Linked DNA regions of Homo sapiens: all the other regions are linked to region 1. The links are contacts of gene promoters, found by promoter capture Hi-C in blood cells and fetal thymus (Javierre and others, 2016). All regions are on one chromosome and are shown on one strand. Each heading gives the region's core, a stretch centred on a gene start or on the middle of the fragment in contact. The rest is flanking DNA. Distances are from core to core; before and after follow the strand shown.

Region 1 (3,751 bases), core at 999-3,498:
TTATAGGTGCAAGGCACTATGAGAGTTTCTTGGGGGCCACCCCATGACATATCAGAGCATATTAAAATGAACTCATACTGTACATTAAATATAATTTAAATGTAGCTCTGAACATTGAGTTGAATGGCAGGTGACTGGTACCTTTTCTAGGTATTTAAACAATGTTTTCCCAATTTTTCCATTTTCTTCTTTTATTTTGGAGCTAATAATTTTTGTTTTGGGTCCCAAACATTTTCTAGTTTTCTTGAAGAACTTGAGGTGGCAGACACTGAGTCTACAGAACCTAATAGATACAACAGCCTTAGAAATTAGTTCTTGTTTTCTTCTTACTTTTGTAATCAGATAAGCTGTCAACTGAGATCTGACAACTGAACTCCGGTTTTTTAGTTCATGAAAAAGAGCCACATGACTAGTTATTTTTCACTGTGTCAGTTAGCAGGTCTGATCCCTTGAGAAGGAAGAATTGATCTCTTAGGGATATAAAACCCTGCATGCCTTAACATCAATTATAAGTTGCTTCTCAATGTCAACCCGGGCAGCCATTTTTTTTTCCTCAGTAAAAATAGGGAAAACATAAATCAATGTGACAAAATGGTTCCAATTTGATGGCATCTTGGCATTTTGCTGCCTAATCACAACTGAGTGATATAATTCCTAAATGAGAGAATTTTAAGGATTACTTAGGTCTTGTGTATAAAGCTCTGAGTAGAGTTGAGTTATGCTTAGACTTGTGTATAAAGCTCTGAGTAGAGTTGAGTTTGGTCCTAGAGTTTCTCTGCCGTAATACTGCTTGGTTTTGCAAGAATTCTGGTGTGATGATTACAGATCTAGCTTTTTGCTTAGTTAATCAAACCAATATAGTTTCTTTGGCTAAAAGGAATTGATTCATCAAATCTGCAAGCTTTCCCAGCCAAACTCCAGGCTTCAGCTGGATTTCCACTTAACTGTACGGGGTAACAGATCCCAGGCGCCTTTGCTCATATACTTGGAGACCAACTTCGCCAAACTACCCATGCGACTCATGCCTCTGAATGTCCAAAGTCACAGGCCTCGCATTTTCTGTTGATGATAATCTGCTTTGCTAAAAGAAACTCCTGAGTGTAAGGCACAGGTTTTACTTAAAAGTCCAGTTGCAAAGCTTGAATTTACAGTTCTAGGGACACCGAATGCCTGACAATAAACTGGTCTCTAAAGTTATACCATGAGAATGAGTCTGAATTCACCAAGTGGAAAGAATAGGAATGCTGCCCTTAGACTTTAGCCTAGGGGCTGAGGGAGGTCTCGCTGGAAGAGAGGTAAAAGAGAAAAAAGAGGCTGGAGGGAATGTGGGTCCAAATCTCACTCCCCATTTTGAGCTCTTTCCACACCTCCAGTGAAACCGTCACAAAGGGGCTGGAAAGAAAACTTGATCCTGGTGCAAGTCTGTTGGGGAGGGAAGACAGGTGGAGTCCGGGAGGAGATGACAAGTGGCCTCCATTTAGCCATTGATTCATTCATTCATTCAACAAACGTTCTAGAACATACTAGGTTCCAGGCTCTGTGTCATGCAACGTTCTAGAACATACTAGGTTCCAGGCTCTGTGTCATGCAGTTGACTTAACTGGCCCCTAAGGATGAGGCTTTCCGTCTTTCTCCGGGACAAGGCCCAGCTGTCTCCCGGGCAGGGGGACAGGGGGTGCGGGTCGGGGAGGAGGGCTCCTCTGCGCCTCCCTGGTAGCCCAGGTAGCCACTCCCAGAGGGGCCACGACCAACCAGGGCCCTCTCCGCCCACGAGGACGCCAAGCAGACCGCGCCGCCCTGAACCCAGCTCTCAGCCCCCACTCTGCAGGACCCCGCAGAAGGGGCGGGCCGGGAGCCGGGAGGCCGGACCCTGCGCCGCTACCCGCCCGGCCCCGCCCCCACCTTCCGCCCCACCCCGCCGGGCTGCAGGGCTCTGCCTGGCCGGCGCCGACCCCGCCTTACCAGGGTTTTGGCTACGTTCCCCCTCTGGGTGATGTTTTTGCTGTGCTTCTCGTTAGCCATCCGGATCCGCTGTTTGGCCACCATGGCTTGTGCGCTCTGAAATGCTCCCACCTGCAAGGATTCCCCCTGCGTTAGCTCCTGCGACAGGGCCGAGCGCGTCCCGCCGAGGCCCCCGCGGCCCACCCGGGCGCTGCAGGTGGCAAGGCGTGGCCCCGAGCCCTGCGCACCCCGCTCCCCGAGCCCCGGCTAGCCGACTCCAGAGAGAGGCCGCAGCCCGGACGGAAGTAATCTCTCATCTCAGGAAACCCTTTCCGACTTCCTCGCCATCCTTCCGGTCCCCGCAGCCACCTACCCCGCGCGGCCACCGAGGCAGGCGCGACCGCACGTCCTCCCGCGCCGAGCGGCCGGAGCGCAGCGCGCAGAGCCGGGGCCCTGCAGTGTCGCGGTCCTGTAGCCGAATGCTGCGGGGCCGAAGGTTCGGGCGACCACGGCGTTTGTGAGCGCGTCGGGGACGGGGACGCGGCCCCTCCTGTGTTTGTCGGCCGGTGACCCACCCCAGCCCCGGGGAAGGGATGAGGGCGGCCGCGCTTCAGGCCGGGCCGCGCGGTCTCCCCTGCACCGCCGCCCCCTGGACGAGGGCTGGACCCAAGGCGGTGGTCAGGGACCTCAGAACACAAGTAGAACCAGTCCAGGCCCGGGCCCGCGCTGCCCGGGTATGGTCCACCAAACGAGCCTTCTCTTTAAGGGTCTCGAGAAGGGCCCCACGCTGGGGGACCCCACTGCAGAACTTTTCGTGAGGGCTGCAAGGAGGGCCGCGTTGTAAAATAAAGAGGAGACACGAAGCGGCATCCCCTGAGGGTTGGGGATCGGGCCGTGAGGATGGAGTTGGGACAGGCCTTTTTGCTTTGGTAGTTGTAGGGGTTGCATTGGAAGATGGGCCAGCGGCAGAGCGGAGCATGCAGGAAAGAGGAAGAGGCCTTGGACCTGCAGCCCAGGTCGGATTTGGTGGTTACTGTCTAAATCTGAAGCTTTGGCCTGCCTTGACTCCCCACCCACCCAGGGCAGCTTGGACCTCTCTCTAGCCACCCTTGTCCCGAGGGGTCTGAGTGTCTCCCAGACTAAACTGGGCATTTTCTGCAGTGGAAGGATAAAAATGGAAGCGTTTACGCGCCTCCCAGACACTGGTATTAGGGCTCAAGAGCTCTACAGATTGCCTGGGGAGGTAGGGGTGGAAGGGGTTCAGTTCCTCACTTGGAGTTAGCTCTTAGAAGCTCAGAAGAGTGGAGGCGAAGAGGGGACATTCAGCCTGGGAGATCTGGGGCAGCGGGAAGTGGGGATACCGGGTCGGGGTGAAGGCAAGCAGCAGCACCCCCAGCATGGGGAAGAAGGCCTGAGGCTGTCTCTGGCCACTGCATCTCTAGGCCTTCTCTTGGAGCGGGAGGTGGCTGGGTTTCCAGGGAATTTTGTGTGAGTAAAATTTTCCCATGTCATTGGAGAGTTAGGAAGAGCTCCTCTTTTGGGGCCTTTTTCCAAGCGGGTCCCCCTCACCCCGCTACAGGCTTCTTGTCACTCAGGCTTCAATAAAGGCCATTCTGGGGGCTGCTTGCTGTAACCTAGAAGACAGAATTGCCTAGGATCATTAGTAGAGTCATTTTTTTTTTTTCCTACTCTACAGGCCAATTAATTTGAAACAAGCTTCTATGGTCTTTTAACTGTTAGCATCACCACTGTTGTAACAGGACCATAAACCCAGTCTGCCCCACTCTAGTCCCATGTTTTTAATAACTGT
Region 2 (3,998 bases), core at 60-2,559, 440 kb after region 1:
TTTGCTGGAGTCACACAATAATTTATTTCCTCTCTGTTCTTTTTGCAGCAAATACTCTTGGGAAGGTATTTAGAACTTCCTGGCCAGCAAAAGAATATGAAAAAAAAAGTCTTTACTATAGTGTTAACCAAAATTTTTTTATTTCACCAGTTTGGGCGTTTATTTGTATCCATCCTACATTAGAAAATGCCAGGGAGTAGCTAAATATTAATAATGTTGTTTTTCTTTTTCAAGAAACACCATGAGCGCCACAGACTCTGATTCAAAATGAACTCATGGCCTAACATCAATGAGACACCGAGCACCAGATGTCAGGTCCAGAGCTGCCCTGCCTGGGGTGTGAAGGGGCCCCTCCCCTCTCTGAGCCTCAGTGGCCCCACATTCATATGACCTGAAGAGTAAATGCCTCCTGAAGTTTTGTACTTGAGGCACCTCACTCACCCACCCTGGTCCAGTCCCTGCCTCAATGTTACTACTTTGGTAAGCTTTATGACTCCAGAACCAACAAGTATGAAGGGCTTTCTTTATTCTGTCTCTTCACAGTGTAAGATGGGTGAAAATTTTAACAGTTCACCTTGCCTCCAAGATTAATCACACTCCCAAAGCCCAGCAATAGTGGATGCTTTCTACATGAGCTGCCTCAAGTTGGGGTTAAAGAAGCATTGCTGCCCCAAGAGTGTTCAGAAATTGCATCGAGGGCAGTGTCTGAATGCTGACACTAGACTGTTTTGCTCAACAGTGATCGCTCCTTTGGTTCTTGTCTTGTGCTTTAGCCCTGATTTTTGCTAACTGTGACATTTGGCTTTAGTTCCTCTTGAGTTTCTGCCTCCTGGCTTCCACCTTGTCTCAGCAGCAGAACTTCCAACTCTGACCGTTAGCCATGTCCTTGATCTGGTTTGTCGTGTGGATTCTCTTTGGGTTTCCTGCCCTCTTTTCCCCACAGTCCTGGGCTAAGGTCTGGAGGCCATTTCAAAATCCATGACGGTCACTGTGAGTGTGTCCTGGAAGCGAGAGAGGAGGCCAGAAAAACGTTTTCTAATGCTCTTTTCCTACCATATAAAACAGATTTTAAAAAATATATTTTGCTCTTCTGGAATGCATAGGTGTGTTACAAAAATTAACATCTGTGAAGCCTGTGTAGATTAATGTGAAAAGCATTTGTGTAGAAGAGTGCCAAGCTATTGCCTTGGCAACAACTCCACAATAGAAAAAGAAAACCTCTAACATCAGCTATAATTACAAAGTAAGGCGGCTGCTTTTGTTTTTACCAACACAGCAGCTCTGTACTTCCAGGTGCCAGTTATCCCCTTCAAATTAGCTATTGTGATAAATTATCAGTTATTTCATCTATTTCAGCAGTAAACCTCTGTCCAAAAAATTGTTTGGAATGACCTTTTGGTATTTCCTTTATGACTGGTAGCAGGGACATTAAAAAAAAAAATCCTTAATGGTAAAAAGTCTTTGTCCTACCAAATGTGGGGGGAAATTTAGCCATAATCTAGGAACTATTGGAAAGAGACAGAGACAGAGACAGTGACAGGAATGGATAGATAGATGATAGATAGATAGATAGATAGATAGATGATTGATAGATAGATAGATAGATAGATAGATAGATAGATAGATAGATGATAGACAGACAGAGATTATGTCTATCACTATTAGACCTGGCTCTAAAGTAGTAAGGTAGATGTGTGCACATGTATGCATGCACGTGGGGCAAAGGGGAGGCAGGTGTATGTGTGAGGGAGTGAGAAAGAGACAGAGAATATCCTAGGCATTCCAATTTGTTGGTGGAGTGTGATTTTATTTCTCACCAAACAAAGGAAGCAAATCTAACAGGCTGTGCATGCTACAACTTCCACTCTTGTCAGGAAAATTTCTCAGTTTCAGTCTTGATTGGAAGCAGAAATTTTTTTGAAGCACAGATGATTTGTCAGCTGGAAGGCAGAAGGTCTCTTGGGACACACCACAAGAATGTCTTTCCTCCATCCAGGAGTCACACAGTCTTGTCATCATCTCTGCTGCTGCAAACCAGCCAACACGGTTAGATGTACAGACTTGTGAACACTTTCAATTGGATTTTTGAGAAAAAGGTTACCCTCCAAACTGGTCAATTTGTTCCTAAGCTTCAAGCTCTCTCTCCCTTCCCCATCCAAAACACTTCCTTCTTTTTCTGCTTCCACTAGTCTTTATTTCATTATTCTCTCCCTCAGACCCCTCTCTGCCTCTATAAAGATAAGCAATTATTTTAAGCTTCAAACAAGATGCTGACCCTTGGGGGGCCTTCAAATGCAGAAAGTCTGGGAGAAGATGGAGGATTTGCAGATCAACAGCTCCCTAGTTGATACTCTGGGATACTTTGCAGTTAAGACTAAGGGACTGATGCTGATAGTTTTACTACCTATAGAAAAGTGTGCAAGTAAAGAGAACCAAAGCCTCTCCCCTTCTCTTGAGGAATCTGCTTGCTGCTTCCCTTCCTGTTGGCAGACAATTCAATTTTCAGGTGCCCACAAAGAGGCAGAAACATTCTTACTTTATGAATTCTGGTATTTCTTAACTCATACTGTATATGATTCCTGACCAACATTAACAATGGACTGAATTCCCTGGGATTATAATATTCCCTGAATCCCAGGGTATCTGCCTGTCAGATTCTGGTGAGGACCACCTGAGGCTAAATCAGGACGAAGGCATTCATCCTGTGTTATTGCTCCTAATTCTCCATGGTGCTATTCAACTTCTCACTCTGTAATTGGCATACTACCTTCCCAATTTGCCAGGACTGGCGATTTGCCACATTTCAGAAACTACTTTTGTGTATGCCAGATTATACTGAGGTTCCATGTTCATGGGGTTTTTAAAATCTCTTTTAATCCCTTTGATTGATAGATTACTAAAATATTTCAGGGTGGATTTGTTGGGTCTGTTTTCCTGTTGCCTAAATTCAATTTAGTTTAATTTATATATGGAATTATTACTACAGATAAATATAATCTTTAGTAAGAATTCCATAATTCCATATTTAAAGATGCAGGGGGGAACATACAAATTTAAGGCACAGTTTACATTCTAATTGGGTAGATAATTCAAGCACAAAGAGAAACATAATATAGGACAGAGTAAGGTGTTGTGTCCTAACACATAGAAAGTTATTCATTTACTACTATTCTGTCATGTGTTGGCCATCAGGAATGGGATACTTATGAGAAAAAAAGATGAACAACACAAAGAAGGAAAAGGGCTCTATCAAAGATAGATAGATAGTTAGATAGATAGATAGATAGTTCTTACCAAAGATATGACTAACATTGAATTCTGAGAGGGGCCTGTGCTCCTCTAGCCACACCAGAACCCTCTAAATAGTGTTAAATCAATCTGTTTTCAGGGTATAAGGGTGGAAAGCTATTAAATTATTTTTGTAATGGTGAAATTCAAAGAATAGAAGAGACCTCACAGACCACTTGAGCCAACCTTCCAGAAGAGGCTGAATTCCCTCTTTCAACAGAAATCTCCCTGTATCAGTGAGAGCCCTTCCACTAAACAAACCCAAAAGTGATTCATTCACCTCTTATTGACTCAGCAGCTCATTCCCTCTTCAGACAACTCTGTTCAACTTTCTTACACTAAGAGGAAATCTGTTTCCCTAAAATCTACACCAGATGGACATCTAAACCCTTCCAAGAAAGCCCTTGGATGTTTGAAAACAGGTATTGTGACCCACCACCCATCCTGTTGCCTGTCTCATCCCACCACATTTTTCTCTTCTACAACTAAATTCCCTCAATGGATATCCAATTTCCTCAATGGATAGCGCCCTTCACAATTATTTTATTTTGTTAAAATGTAAAAATAATAAGTGACTATTGTAGAAAACACAAAAAATATAAAGAAACAACCCTACAAGTGTGTGATCTAGTTGGAAAGATAAATGTGTGATAAGGATGCTATAAAAGCACAAAGAAAACTGTACGTGGCATAGCCCAGAGGTACGAAAG
Region 3 (3,975 bases), core at 1,466-3,965, 340 kb after region 1:
ATTGCTTACACAGCCAGCCAGAACAAAGATTCTCACATTGCCCTCTTTTTCCTTCTTTCTCCCCACTCTCCTTCCTTCTTCCTCCTTCTCCCTCTCTTGTCCTCATTTGTCTTCCTCACCTCTCTCCCTTATGACCACTTGGTTCTCTTCCTCTTTTACCCTCTTCCCTTTTCCCTTAAACTTCACCATCTGCCTCCATCCTCAAAGCCAGGGACACAAACCCCTGAGCATTGTGCCTAAACATTGTACAGTGCAAATTCCACTGAAAAGGTAGACATTTTTTTTGATGTAATACAATGCTATATTTCTTTTCTTGGGCTGCCGTAACAAAAAACCAAAAATTCAGCATCTTAAAACAACACAAAGTTATTGCCTTGTGGTTCTGTAGGTCAGAAATTCAAATATGAATCTCACTGGACTAAAATTAAGATGTCCATAGGAGGCCAGGTGCTGTGGCTCACACCTGTAATCCCAGCACTTTGGGAGGTCGAAGCAGGATGATCACTTGAGCCCAGGAGTTCGAGACCAGCCTCCACAACATAGGGAGACCTCATCTCTACTCAAAAGAGAAAAGAAAAACAAAGATGTCAGCAGGGCTGAGTTCCTTTCTGGAGGGTCTGGGGGAGAATGTTTCCTTGCTTTTTCCACCTTCCAGAAGCCATCCTCATTCCTTGGTTCCTGGTGTCTCCATCCATCTTCAATGTCAGGAACAACAGGTCAAGTCCTTCTTACAGTGCATCTCTGAAGAGGTAGATTTTTATATTGTCTTTGCATTAGCTAAGTCATTAGAAAGTAGTCTTTATATGTTCCAAAGGCAAAAATCAAATAAATCAGTAAAAGGTTTCTAGTTAATTGCTAAGTTTTATTGAACACTTATTATTTGCCATTCATTTTGCATGTGTTATCTGATTGAAGCCTTTTAACAAGTCTATGTAATAGGTACTCTTATAAGCACCGACTTAGACGTGATGAAATGTAGGAAAATTAACTTCTTTACTCATGGAGCCAAAAGAGAGACTCATTCACAAGTCTGTCTGGTTCTCAGGTCCATGCTGGTAACTTAACTGCTATGGTGCTTCCTGACAAACATTGTTTAAGGCATTAACATAACCTGCTAGGCATGCTCAAATAATCCAAGCGCCCATACAATTTAAAAATTGCCTTGAAATTTTTCATGCCCTCTGCCTTGTTAGCAATACCTGCCTCTTCCACCTCTTTGCAATTCTCTAGATTCAGACACAGATGAGTTCTGTCAGCTCCTCTCCACATCCTGAGCTCTCCCATCCTCATGGGAAAAGGAAATACAGAAAAAGTAGAGTTTTCCAGATTGTTTCTAGTCTGGCTTATTTCTTTTTGGATGGAAACATTTGGCAAAGTGATCTTCTTAAGGCTATTATAACAACTATATGCAGCAAGCTTCTTAGTGTTCATTTAAATAGAAGTGATTTTCATCAGTTCAAGTTCCTGGTCTGCACTTCAGTTACCGTGACTGTTCTTTTGAGCTGTAAATCTAGTCTGACTAATGCAGGATAATGAGCAAAGTCTCCCTGCTCTCTCTTCACTATAACTCAGCCATATATCATAGTACAAAATCTCGATTCTGACTTTAGATATATATTGAGCAGCTTGTCAGAAGCTCAGCTGGCATTGTATATGAGGGTAGGAGGAGTTGCTACAATTTAGACGTAACAGAGTTTTTTTCAAAAAATTTTTTCTTTCAAGTGACTTCAACCCCCTGATTCATTTTCAACTTGGAAAAAATATCAGGTACACGATGGACTCTTAGAGCTGGATTTTGGTAAGCACAATGTACAATTCAGTATCTTTTTCTGTAAAGGCAATTTTTATTTTTTAATTTTTTTTAATTTTTATTTTTTTATTTTTTTGAGACGGAGTCTCACTGCGACCTCTGCCTCCTGGGTTCAAGCGATTCTCCTGCCTCAGCCTCCCCAGTAGTTGGGATTACAGGTGCCCGCCACTGTGCCTGGCTAATTTTTATATTTTTAGTAGAGACGGGGTTTCACCATGTTGGCCAGGATGGTCTCAAACTCCTGACCTCAGGTGATCCGCCTGCCTCAGCCTTCCAAAGTGCTGGGATTACAGGTGTGAGCCACCACACCCGGCCTGTAAGGGCAATTTTCAAAGAGCTATTTCTATCATTTTTTAAGCTGATGTGTTCTTCTTTGACTGCCACACCAACTTTATGCCTTATTTTCAACATCTTCAGGGTATTTATTTTTTTAATTATTGCTTTAAAGCCTAATGAGGCCAGGCATGGTGGCTCACACCTGTAATCCCAGCACTTCGGGAGGCCTAGCTAGGTAGGTGGATCACCTGAGGTCAGGAGTTCAAGACCAGGCTGGCTAACATGGCCAAACACTGTCTCTACTAAAAATACAAAAATTAGCCAGGTGTGGCAGGCACCTGTAGTCCCAGCTACTTGGGAGGCTGAGACAAGAGAATTGCTTGAACCTGTGAGGAGAGGGTGCAGTGAGCCGAGATTACACCACTGCACTCCAGCCTGGGTGACAAAGTGAGACTCTGTCTCAATAAATAAATAAATAAAAATAAAAACAAAGTCTAATGAACCATATAACAGATATTCTAAAATATGTTCTACCCTTCAAAGCCAGTTAAGTCTAGTACCTGTTTCATAACAAACAACGATCCCAGTGAATGTTCTGCTGTAATTTCCATGGTGAGAAATAGTTCTTCATAGTCATGCGGCTCCCAGGGTTCTTCTGAATTGGTTTGGAATCCAAGACAAATGGTAGCTTGTTACTTTTAGCAGTCACCACCAGGTGACCCTGTATGGTGTGTGTGAGCAGAGAGGCAGGGTCAGCAAGGTCCCTGAGTATACTGGGTTAAAAAGTGCCCCTCCCCTCCTCACTCAATTCATGTCCACCTGGAACCCTCAGATTGCTACCTTATTTGAAAATAGGGTCTTTGTAGATATAATTAGTTAGGTTAGGATGAGGTCATACTGGATTAGGATGGACCCTAAACCCAATGACTGGTGTTCTTATAAGAAGAAAGAGACGGCTGGGCGCAGTGGCTCACGCCTGTAATCCCAGCACTTTGGGAGGCTGAGGCAGATGGATCACGAGGTCAGGTGTTCGAGACCAGCCTGACCAACATGGTGAAACCCCGTCTCTACTAAAAATACAAAAATTTAGCAGGTCCTGGTGGCGCGCGCCTGTAATCCCAGCTACTCAGGAGGCTGAGGCAGGAGAATCGCTTGAGCCCGGGAGGCGAAAGTTGCAGTGAGCTGAGATCGCGCCACTGCACTCCAGCCTGGGCCACAGAGCAAGACTCCATCTCAAAAAAAAGAAGAAAGATGGCCGTGTGATGACAGAGGCAGGGACTGGAGAGATACAGCCACAATGCCAGGAGCCACCAGAATCTAGGAAGAGGCAAGGAAGGACTCTTCTCCTTCCTTCAGAGGGAGCATGGTCCTGGCAACACCATGAGTTTCAACTTCTTGACTCTCAGACTTTGAAAGCATAATATTTGTATTGTTTTAAGCTGCGCAGTTTGGGGTAACTTGTTTCAGCAGCCCTAGGAAATGAATGAACTGAGGAATCCCTGAAGGATGTCACTAAAGGGGGGCAGGCAGAGTCAAGACTGTCCTCTCACTTGGGACTCCTGGGCAGAGGACTCTCAGCAGCTATGCTGTGGGCAGCGGGTGAGAGGAATGTCCTGGAGGGCCAGAGCACAGTGACCAGAGATGGGAGTATCTCATTTCAACCCAACTGCGGCTGCTGAGATGTGAGGAAAGTCCAACTGATGCAATCCTGGGAACGCAGAGTTAGAGCTGCAAATTAAATAGACTCCAGGAGTAAACTGGGAGAGAAGAGCCTCTGTAACATGGTGATCTTCTCAGTATACCAGCATGCATAAATTTAGGGCCACTGAGCCCAGCCTGAAAATTCTGCAAATAGTTGAACCACAGTAAATGGAAAGATTTTCATTATG
Region 4 (3,645 bases), core at 438-2,937, 390 kb after region 1:
TCTTTTCACTAGAGACTTTGACATTTCTTAAGTAATGCCTGAGATGACAAATTAGCTTGGAGTCAATCTTCCCATCTATTTTTATGCAAAGTTTGTTTCCATTTGACTATAAATAGAAAAAAAAATGGGGAAAAAAGATAACTAGGAAAATTGATTTTTAAAATTCTCACATTAAACCAGGTTATAAATGGATGGAAAACTGGGCTTGAAGGTTGACATTGAGCAGGTTACTTAGTCTCTTGCTGTCTCAGTTGTATCATCTGTCAAAGAGTAAGATTGGATTCAATAATTAAATTGTCATTTTAGGATTGGCACAAGGAAAATGAAATTTCCTAGCAGCCTTAAATTTTTTAAAATTAATTTTCTATTAAATTTTAACATATATATAAAGAAAAGTGGCATATTGGCCAGGCACGGTGGCTCACACCTGTAATCCAAGCACTTCGGGAGGCTGAGGTGGGCAGATCACCTGAAGTCGGGAGTTTGAGACCAGCCTGACCAACATGGAAAAACACTGTCTCTACTAAAAATACAAAATTAGCCTAGTGTGGTGGCACATTCCTGTAATCCCAGCTACTTGGGAGGCTGAGGCAGGAGAATTGCTTGAATCTGGGAGGTGAAGGTTGCAGTGAGCCGAGATCGTGCCATTACACTCCAGCCTGGGCAACAAGAGTGAAACTCCATCTCAAAAAAAAAAAAAAGAAAGAAAAATGGCATATTATGATGATCTCGCTTAATGAATTATCACAAAAAGAACTCAACCATCTAAGCACAACCTTGATGAAGAAATCAAGTATTACTAGCATCTCAAGCCTCTCTCATGGCCCATCAAGTCCCCACCCTGCTCAGCCTTTTCCAAACATAAACACTCATCATTACTTCTAAAATCACAAATTAGTTTGCTTTTGAACTTTATAAAAATGAAATTATACCATATGTTTTTTAACGTCTGTAAGACATATATTGGTCTATAATTTGGCGCTAATCAAAATTCAGATTTATCAACATAGGTGACCAAGGTTTTGGGCCTTCGTGCTTAAGCCTTTATGTCATTCAGAATTACTCCATATGTGGGGAGGGAAATGACTCTATGTATTATGAGCTGAAAGATATTTAATGTACATAATTAGAGTTTCACATAACCATTGAAAGAGCTGGGGAGGCAAAGGTCAAGAAGGCCACTTTAGGAGACCTGGTGGTATAGTGATCACAGAGAAGCCACCACTGATGACATCGGCTGCCTGTCCACGGGAACCCGGAGCCAAAGGAAGCCCTCAGTGAAGATCTCAGCTCCCCAGCCAAACTGTTGCAAGAAAAAAACACCTTCTCCTTCTCTTCCACCTTTGAAATCTCATGTGAATTCTTCCTACTGGCAGCTTTAACCCAGAATCCGATTCAGGAAAACGTTCTGTGACCTAGGGAAAAAGAACACTGAGAAGGGCAATGAAGACACAGAGCTAAAAGCAGATAATGTGGCCAACACTTAGTTATAAACTAGCTGGTGGAAGCAAATTGACCTCTCTGCATTTCTAATCTTCTAGTCTCTCCTAAGTCTTCAGATCCATTTCCAATACAAATCCTATAGTGCCCTCCTTAGGGATACTTAAAAGCCTGCTTCTATGTTACTTCTTTCAAAACCAGTGAGTGACTTAGAAGGTCTTCTCTTTTATTGCAGATGCGTAGAGCAGCTTCTGAAGATCAGCAGGCCTGTGCAGCATCATCTGAGGGTCCCCAGAATTAAAGCAACATGAAACCCTTCATACTGAGTGTGGCCACTTCCCACTGACCATGACTCACAAATGGTGAGGCCACCTGACAGCGTTGAAGATAATTACTATTCATCCTCTTCTGCTAATAGAAACTATTTTCTCCCCTAATCTAGGTTTCCAATTTTAGAAGCTGCCCTGTCCTCATAAAAGAATTACCAGGAAGGTAGGAGGTTTGTTTGTTTGCTTTTCTGTGCATCTAAGTACCCTGACAATCTAATCTCTGGAGAGTCTCAGTAACCAGGCAACACAAGTCATGCTCCAATTGTGCGGTCCTCAATCCACTTTTCCTGTGCTATTCCAGTTCAAAGTAAGAATACCAAAGCCAGAACTGCAGAAGATAAATGTGGATCTTTATTACTACAAGCAGATAACGGGGTCTGCCCCCTCTTCTTATTGCTGAGTAGAAATTCTGAGGCAAGTGCTTTTAAAAAGACTAGAACAGCACATTTTACCTAAGAATAAGATTATAGCTAGTAACCTGTTTTTCTTACAAAAAAAGAAAATGGAAGGAGATAGCTTTTGTCTGGTGACAGTTTATTTTAACCCAGATGCTTCCTCCACTTGTAATTTGGCCTCATTTGTGTTTTCAGAAACATCACCAATTCAGACGGGTTTCTTGGGTAAGGACTTAATGGACAAGGTTAAACACAGCTGTTCTGGTGCCTGAAATCCTTAAGAGTCTAGCAGGACCGGAGCAAGTAAAATAAACTCAGAAAGAGCTGTCTGGATCAGTGTTTCTAGAGACAAAATGAGTATAAATGAGCATGGAGTCAACAGGCCTCCTGGGTCAAGGTCAGAGGCAACCTGGGGACACGGATTAACAGCGGAAGAACACTGCCTATAGTACATTTGCTATGAGACAGCACAGAATTGGACATTCTGGCCTTTAATCATCAGGCTATCACAAGGAAAAGTGGTCCAGATTTAGTACTGTGTCAGCACTTTTTATAATAAATGCTTCATTTACTAGGAATTTAGCTATCGAGTTGCAGATGATAAAAATGACACTCAAATGCAAGGTCAAACAGCAAACATTTATAATTCCTGTCTATTAGCTAAATACACAGTCCTAATTATCCAGGTGAAAGGGGTAATTGTTTTCCCAAACAGTGCCTCAATCTCCAGTGATTTACAAAGCACTTTTACACACATCATCTCGTCACAGTGGTGTGTATGCCCTTGTTACACAGATGGATTGAACTGGAAATTGTTTCATTTGCCAGTTTTAAGTATCTTCCTTTTCCCTGTGGGTGGTTTCTGTAAGGCCTGATGGACATATTATCATCTGGATCTTCCAGGCAATGACACCTCTAAAGAGGCCGATGAACTAGAACTATCAGTTCTAACACCTTAGGCAAGAATCCCTCAATCTCTCTGGGTTTCAGCTTCTTCATGTGTATACTGTAGATATGTTGTCAAAATTGTGCTAATCTTCACCAACTAATAAGAAATGATAAGAATGAGATTTTGTGGATATGGGACTTTAATATACAGTGAGAGGAATATAAATCAGCATGACTTTTTGCTGGTGTTATGTAATAAAATGTAAAACGTACATACCATTTCATGCAGAAAATTTATATCCAAGAATCTATCCCAATGAGGTAGTTACATAAATATGCAAGTATACACAAGATGTTCATCACAATTAGAAACAACCAAAATGTCCACCAACATGAGACTAGTTCAAAAAGATACGAGGTATTCATACAAGAGACTTTATGCATCCACTGAAAAGAATCATGTAATTCATATTGGTTGACTCAAATAGAAGCTCCATCACATATTTTCAAGACAAAAGGAATTACAAAGCAGTATGGTTGATATAATCCCATTTATGTGCAAATCAAATAAATTCCAGATTTCACTGTGGTTC
Region 5 (3,675 bases), core at 122-2,621, 460 kb after region 1:
GATTCAATTTCCCAAAATAAAGAGAGGAAAGAATAAAAAAAAAAACCCGTAATAATAAGTTTAGTTGAATTATACTTATAATAGAAGTGATGACTGAATCAACAAACTGAAAGAAATTGAACAGTCTGCCTTAAAACAAAAAGGATACACAAGTAATTCAATCTCTACAGGAGAGAAACATGAAAGGATTTTTAAAGGAGAAAGGAATGATTTGCAAAAAATTTCAGTGCAAGTTACATGAGTTTTCTATAGGACTTAATTTTTTAAAAAACCATAACCCTGCAAGCCATGGAAATAATTAAGAAAACAATTATTTAATTAGAATAGATCATTTGGCAATTGACTATTGAAGCAGTTTCATTTTACCAAAAGGAAAAAAAAAACAGAAAATGATCTTGTAAACTTTTGCTATTCTGACCTTTTTTAAATATTCTGAAAAAATACCTTCTAGCTAAAAGCATTTGTGAAATTCAGATGGAGAAATACAAAACTGATGTCACGGAAATGCTTAAATTGATAAATTCCAGCCCTTCCAAGCAGGCTGAGGAAATTTTTAAACACAGCAATGAGGAAGGATCCATTATTGGCATGAAAATAGGTTGAGTATTCCCATCTCAAATTGCTCTCTTTAATGGACTTGTTTCCAAATAATCCATCCCATGATGAGAAGATGCTTACCTTCTGATCCTAAGGAAGAGGGCCAAAAAGTTTTTCCATCCATTTGTCTCTTTAGAAATAAGACAAAAAAATTAAAAAGAAAGTATATTAATTTCCAATAGATCTAGTTTCTTATGCCCGTGGTCTGCTCATATAGGTTCATAGACAAGTCATTCTAAAATATCATGCCATCTCCTCACCTCCCTTTTGTGTAAACAAATTTCCTTTCAGAAGATAAACATCTGAGAATCTGTTTCTGCCTCAGAAGCACACAGGTGGAAACAGCCCCTAAAGCTCTCTAAGGGTATTTGCCCACTTTAAATAAGGCAGTTATTCTCTGAGTATCTAGACCTAAAATTAGGAATGATGTATGTATTTTTCTTGTCATTATTTTCCTGATTCTGTGGAGGTCTATTGAAAGTATTTTCTAACACATTTAATATTGCAAGCTACCTGAAGAATGGGCCCAGTCCAGCCCCGTTCCAGTGCTCAGGCCTCAGGAAAGGGAAGCAAGGTATGCAGCTTTGACTGGGATTATTTGAGAAAGAAACTCTCAATACTGAGACACACTTTCAATACTGAGCGTCCATGGAAGCAATCCTTCAAGTACTGACAAGCTTGGGAGTTGTGAAAGAAGAGGGAGAACTCAAGTAACAAAACACTGTCATTTAGTATTGCCCTAACCATAACTGGAGCGTACTGAAATCAACCCCAAACAACCAACGTGAAACTCACTGCAAAAAATAAACGGAACATAAATATCCTTCAGTATAAAATGATGGCACAGAAATATTGTGATTCAACAAGCTTCTGAGCCCTTTCTAATATTCATAATTATCCTGGTTTCTTGCCCCAGCATTAAATGTGATGATTCAATCTTTTTCTGACAAGCCACACAAAATTAAGCCTTAGAGGTTGAGTTTATTTTTGTGCCCTTAATACTTCCCTAAAAGTTTTGTTTCAAGAATCAAAAGTCTACTATCCAGGCTAGTAATAACTAGACTCCAGTCCTATCTTTGACTTTTCCAGTGACTTGGTACTTTACCAAAGTTAAGCGCATATTTTCTTTCTCTCTCCAGTTTCTCTTTCTTAACATGGAAACAATAATATGGTACCTATAATTTGCCTCAATAGGGTTATGGCGAATATTCTTCAAACTCATGAAAATTCTTCTGCACAAATATGAAGAGCCATTTTATATTGAAACTGTTATGATACACATTAAGAAAATATTAAAATAAAACATTACAGTAATAGCTTCACAGTGGCTAATAGAGCTGAAAGTCATAATTATACTTACACACTAGCCCTCAGGATACCTGATTACTGACCACAGACATTTTACTTCTCAGAAATGAAGGACAAAATGGTCTGTTCAGTTTATACCTTTGTCATCAGAATCGTTTATATTAACAAAAGTTCTATCCACTAAAGAGTTATTGCCTGTGACTCACATATTTTAAAAATATGCAGCCTGACTAAAGCATCCTCCAGCATCTAAGATCTCTCTTAGCCCAAAAGAGGTATGCAAATCTGACTTACTGCTTAATATTATTATCAAGATTAGTTTGATGGGCACTCTAAGTAAATCTAACCAAAGTAAGAAGAGTAGAATTATGGAGCAGGGGAAAGCATATGTAATTCATTCTAAATCTGTTATCCTGGGGTCAATTGACCAAGATGTTGGCATTATGTCACCTTACAGATACCAAGAGCCCAGTATCAAGTGAGGTATTAGACTGGATCACCTCTGTGCTCACTTTCAGGGGAAGGTTATGTGGAATGATAGGAAGAGTTTAAGGTTTTAGTTCCCACTCCCAAATTTGAACTGAAATTTGAATTTCAGTTTTATCTGTTGTATAATATTGGACAAATCATTTAATCTTTCTGAGTATCAGTTTCTTCTGTGTAAAATGGCCACAACACCAACCTCAGAGAATTGTAAAGGCTTTTGTTGCATTCATCACATCAAATTTTGTTTACAGTTCCTTCTGTGAGATTCTTGAAGGCAGAGACTATGTCTTATCCATTCCTAAATTTTGGATAATTAACATAGTGCCCAACAAATAAAAAACATTCAATGAATATTTGTGAAATTGTGTTGAATCAACTATTTGTACTAGTGCAGCCCTTTGACAACATACTGAATAATATTTTTGTAAAAACAAAAATTCCATTTTTAAATTCAGGTAGTATGGTAGATTAGAATTGTTCTGCAAATATTCACCTTTATCCTCCTCTTTGATGAGAAAAGTATATTCCCTAACCCCTGGAATTTAGTCTTGCCCATATGCCTTGCTTTGGCTAATAGGATGCTAGTGACCATGACCTGAGCAGAGGCTTGAACTGAGCTTGCATAACCGGGCTTGCTCTCTTGAACTCCTGCCTTTCACCACGAGAAGAGCATGTCTTGTGCAGCAAGTAGTCCAAGGAGGATGAGAGACATTTGGTGCCAAGCCCTCCCAAAGCCAAGCTGGGTCAGCCAAACCTCAATTGACTTTTAGATGTGTCAGCCAGAAATACTCATTACTCTACACCACAGTTTTGGGTGGTTTGCTAGACAACATAATTGTGGTGTAGCTTATTAAAACAGATGGTGTTTGATTAAAGAATGTACACCATTTGCTATGCTATAAGTTCTCAGAGTGGACTATACTTTCAAGCTGGGTCAATTTTTCCATTGAACTTAGTAGATTACCTACTAATATAAATGTGTTATTATTTATGTCTTATGATTCCAATGGTATAGTGGTTAAAATTGATAATCTGAGAGCAACTTCCTCAAGCAAAGTATTTTTTTCTAGGTGAAGTTCACCATGAGAAGTTCAAGTTCATTTGAAGTTTAATCTAGTGGAAATATTTTCCTTCTCCACTGCCTCTCATGTCACCTATGAATGTCTGGTGCCATTTTGGGCAGAACCAAATTTTTTTCTCTGCAGGCAGTATGATATAGGGAACTCCCATGGGGCCATATGTACAAATTGAGGGAGAAATGGTGATGAGCAGCCTTCTATTCAT
Region 6 (3,631 bases), core at 1,043-3,542, 470 kb after region 1:
AGTGCAGTGGTGCAATCATGGCTCACTACAGCCTCGACCTCCTGAACTGAAGCAATCCTCCCAGCTCAGCCTCTCAAGTAGCTGGGACTACAGGCATGTGCCACCATGCTAGGCTTTTTTTTTTTTTTTTTGTGGTAAAGTTGGGGTCTCGCTATATTGCCTAGGCTTCATATTCTTTGTTCAAATAAGAATCCAACAGTCACAGGCTTTTGTTTTCTCCTCCAACTCATGCACATAGAAGAGTAGGGGATTGACAATGTTTGTCTTCTGCTTTAACAAAGAAAACTGACATGTATATTTACTTTTTCAAAAACAGAGATATTACTTTAGATATTATTATGTTTAATTTTTTAAAAATTATGACCAAGTTACAAACATACAGAAAAGTATGGAAAACAGTATAATGAAGCTCCAGATGCTCATCACTCAGATTCAACAATTAAAGACTTTCGCCACATTTGTGTCATCCATGCCTTTTTTATTATTATTAAAGAATTTAGTGGCCTCTCTCAGATAACACATTAGTTTATCCCTACATAGTTCAATATGTATTGACATGGATATTTCTAACATAACTTCAATGTCATTAACATCTAACAAGATTAACAATAATTCTTTAGTATCATTTAATACTTATCCTTTATTTAAATTTCCACAATTATCTAAAAACACCTGTCTTTAGAGTTGGCTTATTCTAATGAAACTCCAAACTAGGTCCACTCATTGCTTGTGATTGCCATGTCTCATAAATCTCTTTTAATCTAATAGTCCCCCTCTCATTCTTTCTTTCAATTTTTACCATTGACCATTTGCAAAAATTAGACCAATTGTCCCACACTTTGAATTGTGGTATCCTTTAACTTACTCCTTCCTCCTCCAAATTTTTTATAAACATGTGGTTAGCTCTAGAGCTTGATTAGATTCAGACTCAACATTTGTGGAAGGAATATTTCAAGGTGTTTCTGTGTGCTTCCTATTCCAGCAGATTGAGAAGCAACAATGGTTGCTACACTGATGAAATCATGTCAAGGAATTATTCATTGACTCTCATTTTATTGAATTTTCCTTCCTTCCTAGAAATGTGATTTCCCATAAAGCTGTAACAAAACATAACATGAGATTTTTCCTGTTGTGCAGTCTTTGTTAAGAGGCCAAAGCTGGCCGGGCGCGGTGGCTCACGCCTGTAATCCCAGCACTTTGATAGGCCGAGGTGGGCGGATCACGAGGTCAGGAGATCGAGAACATCCTGGCTAACACGGTGAAACCCCGTCTCTACTAAAAATACAAAAAATTAGCCGGGCGTGGTGGCGGGTGCCTGTGGTCCCAGCTACTCGGGAGACTAAGGCAGGAGAATGGCGCGAACCCGGGAGGCGGAGCTTGCAGTGTGTGGAGATCGCGCCACTGCACTCCAGCCTGGGTGACAGAGAGAGACTCTGTCTCAAATAAATAAATAAAAAATAAAAAATAAAAATAAAATAAAATTAAAAAGAGGCCAAAGCTAAGAGCGGTAACCCCATATTCTTGCAGAGACTAAAGCTTCAGAAGGGAAATTGATCAATTTTTTTTTTTTTTTGAGACAAGTCTCGCTCTGTCGCCCAGGCTGGAGTGCAGTGGCGTGATCTCGGCTCACTGCAACCTCTGCCTCTCAGGTTCAAGTGATTCTCCTGCCCCAGCCTCCAGAATAGCTGGAACTACAGGTGCCTGTCACCACGCCCAGCTAGTTTGTATTTTAGTAGAGACAGGGTTTCACCATGTTGCTCAGGCTGGTCTCGAACTCCTGAGCTCAGGCAATCCACCTGCCTTGGCCTCCCAAAGTGCTGGGAATACAGGCTTGAGCCATCGCGCCCAGCTGAGAATTTTTTAAAGAGCATTATCATAGTCTTGTGCATTTCCCTTTACTCCTGAAAAAAAAAAAAAAAGCCCCATCTCCCTACATCAGAGCCAGGTGCTGCAGGGAACCAAAGCAGATCGTTTAAGTTAAATTCGACCTATGGTCCCCTAAGTTTGGGAGTTGAATACACTGTGACCTTTGCCTCACTCTCCTCTGCTTCAGTCTGAAAAAAAGGAGGCTGGTCAGTGCCTGGAGCTGCCTGGATAGCAAAGAAACAAGGCTATATTGGGAATCGTTTGGACATCTAGAATTTGATGGGGCAAAAATGTCAAGTTTCCTGTGGGTTTAAGGGAGCATAGGTAGGCTACAACGGTCTTTGTAAAATAGGAAGAGGCTATGTAGAGTGTACCATCAAAGCTGGATGGGTGCGGTAAATGGTCCGCTGGAGAGCACTTTGTTTGAATGGGTGTGTGGTAGTGGCGAGGAGGCGAGTTGCAGAGGTGGCCCCCTAACACAACCTATTTCTCATCCTCCCTCGCTATCAACACCCTGGCATTAGTAGGTGAAAAAGATGATCACAGTTGGGAAAATAGAGAACAAATCATGCTTTATGCCCCAGTGCTTGTCTGGTCTAAGCTGGGGAGGTGAGAAGCTCTAAATTTAAATCAGGTTAGACTTAATAATAGTCTAAAGTTTACCACAGGTGAAACAAATGTCTAAAGATGGGTAAAGAAACATGGCTGAATGCTTTAAAACAGATCTCCACTGCAAGCATTCTTTATTTGTAGTACTTTTATTATTACTATTTTATTATTTGGAGACAGGGTCTCACTCTGTCGTCCAGGCTGGAGTGCAGTGGCGCGATCTGGGCTCACAGCAACCTCCGCCTCCTGCGTTCAAGTGATTCTCGTGCCTCAGCCTCCCGAATAACTGGGGCTACAGGCACGCCACCGTGCTGGGCTAATTTTTGTATTTTTAGTAGAGATGGGGTATCGCCATGTTGGCCAGACTGGTGTCGAACTCTAGACCTCAGGTGATCCGTCCATCTCGTCCTCCCAAAGTGCTGGGATTACAGGTGTAAGCCACTGCACCCAGCCTGCAGCACTTTAAATATATATTATTTTAATAAATGCAACTAAACATTGAAGATATAAAAGTACCTAGTGAGAAGGGGTCCTCAAAATTGGTTATACATTAGAATCCTTCAGGAAGCTTTAAAAGCCTTGATGTTGTCCTACCCCAGATTCTGATTTAATTGGTCTGGCATGTGGCTTAGACATCAGGGTTCCTAAAGCTTAACAGGTGATTCTATTATATAGCCAAGGTTGAGAACTACTCTAAAAATAGAGACTACTGAGAGAAAAAAAAAACACAAAAAACCATTTGACTATTTTACTATCAAATATCAACAAAACTATAGAAAAGTTGGAATTTTTGTGGAAAAGATCTACGTTTGGTCTTCACTCTCTGGGTAACTGTCATAGAGCATTGATTAAATAGTTTGCATTTGTTTCACTAAAGGCATGGATAGGGTATGCTATAAGATAAATACTAAACATATATTATTACAGGAGTGGAAAGAATTAGCTTTTAAAAATAAATATTAGCTTTTAACATACATGATTCCCACAGGAGACATGTATCTTCAAGCAGTATTTTTTCTTTTTAAAATTTTTTTGCTTTTATTATTTTTAATTGACACATAATACCTTTGTATGGGGCACAGTATGATATTTTGATACATGTGTACAATGTGTAATGACCAAATCAGGGTAATTAGCATATTCAATACCTCAAACA
Region 7 (3,531 bases), core at 891-3,390, 360 kb after region 1:
TAAGCTTTTCTTTTGGTGCCAGAAACTTCAGATCCTGCCGTTTGCTGGGCCTTCCCTTACCCTTGTTTATCATTTGGATTGCCGTGCTGCAGCTCCTGCCTGACACTTTGATTCAGCATTTTATCCCAGATCCATTCAGGAAGGAATTCGAGGAACGAGCAAAATCCCTGGAAATAATTTATCGAAAGTAACCCATCCACCCTCCAACCTAATGAAAGATTTCATTAGTTACAAGTCTGAGTAACTCACAACCAGCTTCCACTGCCAAAGTCCAGTTTTCAATAGGAAGTCCATCCCTCATCCCATTCCTTCTTGCGCCACAAGGGCACTTTATTTACTCTTTCTCCAGACATTGTTATTTCCTGTGGCACTTCTTTTGCAATAACAAGATGCCAGGTTAATCTCCTTCCCTGCATATCTCTCCCGTTCTCTCCCTCCCTCGCTCCTATCTCTCTCCTGAGAAGCCACTGAATGGCCTACATTTAGGCAAACCAAGAAAGACACAGTTAGACACAGCTTCTCCCTCTTAACAAGTGTTATTTCTCCCTCTTAGAGGCACTGCCCTTCCTGAAGCACATAAATTCTCCTTTCCTGTTTGCAAAACTGTCCACTCTTCTTCCTTTGGGAAAAGGTAGGCAGGCTCCAAGGAGGGGCTATGCTCACTGCATGTGGCACGAGCTCTGTGTTCTGTTGGCCAAGATTCAAAACCAGCACTGGAACAAGACAGTATCAACCACAGGGTCCCTGTGCAGGGTCCCTGTCCATCCCAACAAATGGACGACTCACTTCCAGAGACTGGGCACTCAGCAGCCACGCCCAAGGCCCCAACAGCGTCCTAACATCAGGGCTAAGGCACTAGAGGGTTTGATGGTTCTGAGGCACTCGTGGAGAGAAGAAAGGAGTGGAAGATAGAGGAGAGAAGAAAGCAGGGCTTGGACAGATAAGGCCAGAGGGGATTTCCCCCTTCCCAAGTTGCTCCCAGCCACCAAAGAGTTTCCGGGCCTCACAAAGGCTTTTCCCAGCTCACCAGCCTGTCTGACCACAGCCTAACAGTGAGATCCAGAACAGATACATCCTTAAAGCACTTAGGCTTACTGCAAAAGGCCAGCATAGTTGTGGAAAGAGTCCAGTTTATTTGGGCTAGGGTCTATGGGCTGCGATTTTCTCACACTTGATTTTAGCCTACAGGCTGAGAATTGACTAGGTTGTGATTTCTTAACTGAATTTTGTTGGGAGCTCTGACTCTGAATTTGAGTGCCACTGGCTGCTGCATCTACTTTGTATCAACTCCAGGTGCTCCTCCCACATCTAAGTCTGAGGTTTAAGAAGTACAGTAAAGCTGCTATGAATTCCCAGCTATGGGAATTTTCCTCAAAGCTTCATTGTCTAAACTCTGAACCTCATCATAACCTCAGTTCTGCCTAGCTCCATAACTAGTAGGTTTCACAATTTGATGTCCTCTTGCTGTGCTGACCCACTTGGAACTGGTAAGTGAGTTCTGGACAGGTATTATTGGCCCGTGATCCCTGTAGAAACCAGACTTGCAGAATCGTTTTCAGGCTCCGTTCTTACTGTCACGCGAAGGGCTTTGACTTCTAATAGCCAGGAAGGGAGCCTAGGCAGACAGGATATTCCCTGAGTATAACGGGATCTGGCAACGGGCTGTAGGGTGGGAAAATGTACAAGGGGAGGAGACGCTTGTATGTAAATAGAGACTTATCTAGATTCCAGGGGTATGCATTTGATGGGGCAAAAACCTTGGGAATGCATAGTTGAAACATCTTTGGTTGGCCTGACATATTCTGTCACTGTTTGAAACTAGGAAAACCTCATTGACCAATCTGATTAGCAAATATTAATTAACTAACTCAGTGAAAATGTATTTAACTCAAATGAGCGACAGATGTAATGTTCCATTATAGACCTTATTTAAATATTTATCTGGTCAATTTGGTCAACATTTTAATATTCATTATATATATGGGCATATTCTGGAAAGATACATTTGGTTTTCCAGTTTGCCATCTCTTTCAAGAGGTGTCCTGGGTTATGTAGCTTGTGTCATTTGCAATTAACTGGTTAGCCTTTTAATTGGTTCCATTGTGTGAAGGAGAATGATGGGAAGAACACAAAGGGAGAAGTTTCTGGAAATGGTGTTAAATTTTGACATAACTTCCTAAGCCATCTCTCATTCTTTGCTGACCTGGACTGCAAGGTCAAGTGCACAGATGTGCTTAGGAAGCCGACAGTGCCAGGTGCCCCCAGGGCCTCGGAGGTAGAAGTTTGGGTGCACTCAACTCCCACAGAGCTGACTCTGAGCTCACTGCCCAGACGATTGCAATAAAACCCTCCTTTCACATGAAAGGAAAAAAGAAAAACATAAAACAACCCTGCTCTGTACCGTATTATCCCAGGCAAGCATAGGAAATCAAGTCTGAGTCACCCATTTAAATCCAAAGTGCTATTTTTAGTTGGCAGTGTCAGCTGTTATTTGACATTCATCCTGATGTCTAGGCCTTTTGGCCAGAGTTCTAGTCATTTGCTGATCATTAATGGAGTGGATGAGACAAGACTTATTAACAAGGTTCAGTTTGAGGGTACGGATTGGTGGCATAACGATCTTACCTCTTTTCTGCAGAATGATCAAAGCTCAGCAGCTAACGGCCTGTGAACAAACATTACTCCCATCCACATCTTCCCATCTCCACCCTTCCAGAAATAGGCAGGGTTTTATCAAAGAGCTTTCTTGTTTGATGCTACTCTATAAATATAATTTGGGAAACGTACTATTTTGAAAACCAAGACATTTTTAAAAGGGGCTTTTTTCAAAAACGTAAAGCTGGACTTCACTACTGATGTGTTTATATTCACGGATCACTCAGGCTTTCTGTGGCTCAAGCTTTGTACGTATTCCCAGAAATTTGGCAAACCTTCTTAGGGGAAGCCTCTGGAAAATGTCTTTTGTCCTCAGGCCATTCAGCAAGATCCTAGAATCTGGGGATCAGAGACTACAACCCGGAAGGGACCAGGCTCAGAGCCCTGTGGGGTACTAGGCAGGAGGTAGGTCCTTCAGCCCCTCTCCTTGAGGTTATGTTTACTGCTACCCCTTATGCATCCACCATGCCTTTTGTTTAATCTGGTAGATAAAGCCTTCCTCTTGTTGGTTGTCATGTTTCTAGATTCCAGCACAACACACCTGCTGACTGCCAGGAAGTGCTTTTCACCCCAGGCTGACCAGTCAAGGGAATAACCACAGTCTGGGAACCAGAGAAATTCAGCTGCATGTCTGAAGCAATTTAATTTATCTTAATACATTTTCACAAGTGGAAAATGTGGAGGCCAGCACTGTATAACTTAGTAAATTCAAAATATGGGCAAAAACAATCAAATCTGGTTTTTCCCTAAGTGTGTCAGATGATTTCTTCTGGCTTTCCATTTTACCATGTTATGTAAATGTGTTCAACCAAAGGCAAAGGCTTACATTCTCTCAGAGCTTCGTTATCATCAAGCATTTGAGTTACCGGGAAAACA

What was found. Contacts are between HindIII fragments. The CHiCAGO score rates a contact against its expected background, and 5 or more counts as called.
Region 2: a contact is called between a fragment that was not itself captured here and the fragment with the promoter of SERP2 in region 1, in 1 of 17 cell types (M1 macrophages). The highest score is 5.2, in M1 macrophages.
Region 3: a fragment that was not itself captured here is called in contact with the fragment with the promoter of SERP2 in region 1 in 4 of 17 cell types (naive CD4 T cells, total B cells, naive B cells and 1 more); the score reaches 6.1 in naive CD4 T cells.
Region 4: a contact is called between a fragment that was not itself captured here and the fragment with the promoter of SERP2 in region 1, in 2 of 17 cell types (naive CD8 T cells and naive CD4 T cells). The highest score is 5.2, in naive CD8 T cells.
Region 5: a contact is called between a fragment that was not itself captured here and the fragment with the promoter of SERP2 in region 1, in 7 of 17 cell types (M2 macrophages, M0 macrophages, M1 macrophages and 4 more). The highest score is 9.1, in M2 macrophages.
Region 6: a contact is called between a fragment that was not itself captured here and the fragment with the promoter of SERP2 in region 1, in 1 of 17 cell types (M2 macrophages). The highest score is 5.1, in M2 macrophages.
Region 7: a contact is called between a fragment that was not itself captured here and the fragment with the promoter of SERP2 in region 1, in 1 of 17 cell types (total CD4 T cells). The highest score is 5.1, in total CD4 T cells.

What each region holds. Positions count from the first base shown.
Region 1 is chr13:44,372,321-44,376,071 of GRCh38, reverse strand. SERP2 (stress associated endoplasmic reticulum protein family member 2) reads right to left here and starts at 2,248. Exons shown (of 3, transcript NM_001010897.3): 1 at 1,963-2,248. The coding sequence starts at 2,046. It overlaps LOC105370297 (a long non-coding RNA gene), which reads left to right and starts at 2,506. Exons shown (of 2, transcript XR_001749858.3): 1 at 2,506-2,675; 2 at 2,875-3,751. The HindIII fragment of the contact is 1,852 bases long and covers 1,141-2,992 here.
Region 2 is chr13:43,934,045-43,938,042 of GRCh38, reverse strand. No RefSeq gene overlaps it. Among named protein-coding and RNA genes, the nearest start is that of LACC1, 56 kb to the right of the region's middle. The HindIII fragment of the contact is 1,644 bases long and covers 488-2,131 here.
Region 3 is chr13:44,030,581-44,034,555 of GRCh38, reverse strand. No RefSeq gene overlaps it. Among named protein-coding and RNA genes, the nearest start is that of NRAD1, 10 kb to the right of the region's middle. The HindIII fragment of the contact is 2,593 bases long and covers 1,419-3,975 here.
Region 4 is chr13:43,984,858-43,988,502 of GRCh38, reverse strand. It overlaps LOC105370182 (a long non-coding RNA gene), which reads left to right. Exons shown (of 6, transcript XR_941918.3): 5 at 1,676-1,802; 6 at 1,883-1,925. Among named protein-coding and RNA genes, the nearest start is that of NRAD1, 36 kb to the left of the region's middle. The HindIII fragment of the contact is 7,532 bases long and covers 1-3,645 here.
Region 5 is chr13:43,916,437-43,920,111 of GRCh38, reverse strand. No RefSeq gene overlaps it. Among named protein-coding and RNA genes, the nearest start is that of LACC1, 38 kb to the right of the region's middle. The HindIII fragment of the contact is 190 bases long and covers 1,277-1,466 here.
Region 6 is chr13:43,900,086-43,903,716 of GRCh38, reverse strand. No RefSeq gene overlaps it. Among named protein-coding and RNA genes, the nearest start is that of LACC1, 22 kb to the right of the region's middle. The HindIII fragment of the contact is 1,507 bases long and covers 1,539-3,045 here.
Region 7 is chr13:44,012,791-44,016,321 of GRCh38, reverse strand. It overlaps LOC105370182 (a long non-coding RNA gene), which reads left to right and starts at 1,280. Exons shown (of 6, transcript XR_941918.3): 1 at 1,280-1,487; 2 at 2,972-3,060. The HindIII fragment of the contact is 1,522 bases long and covers 1,380-2,901 here.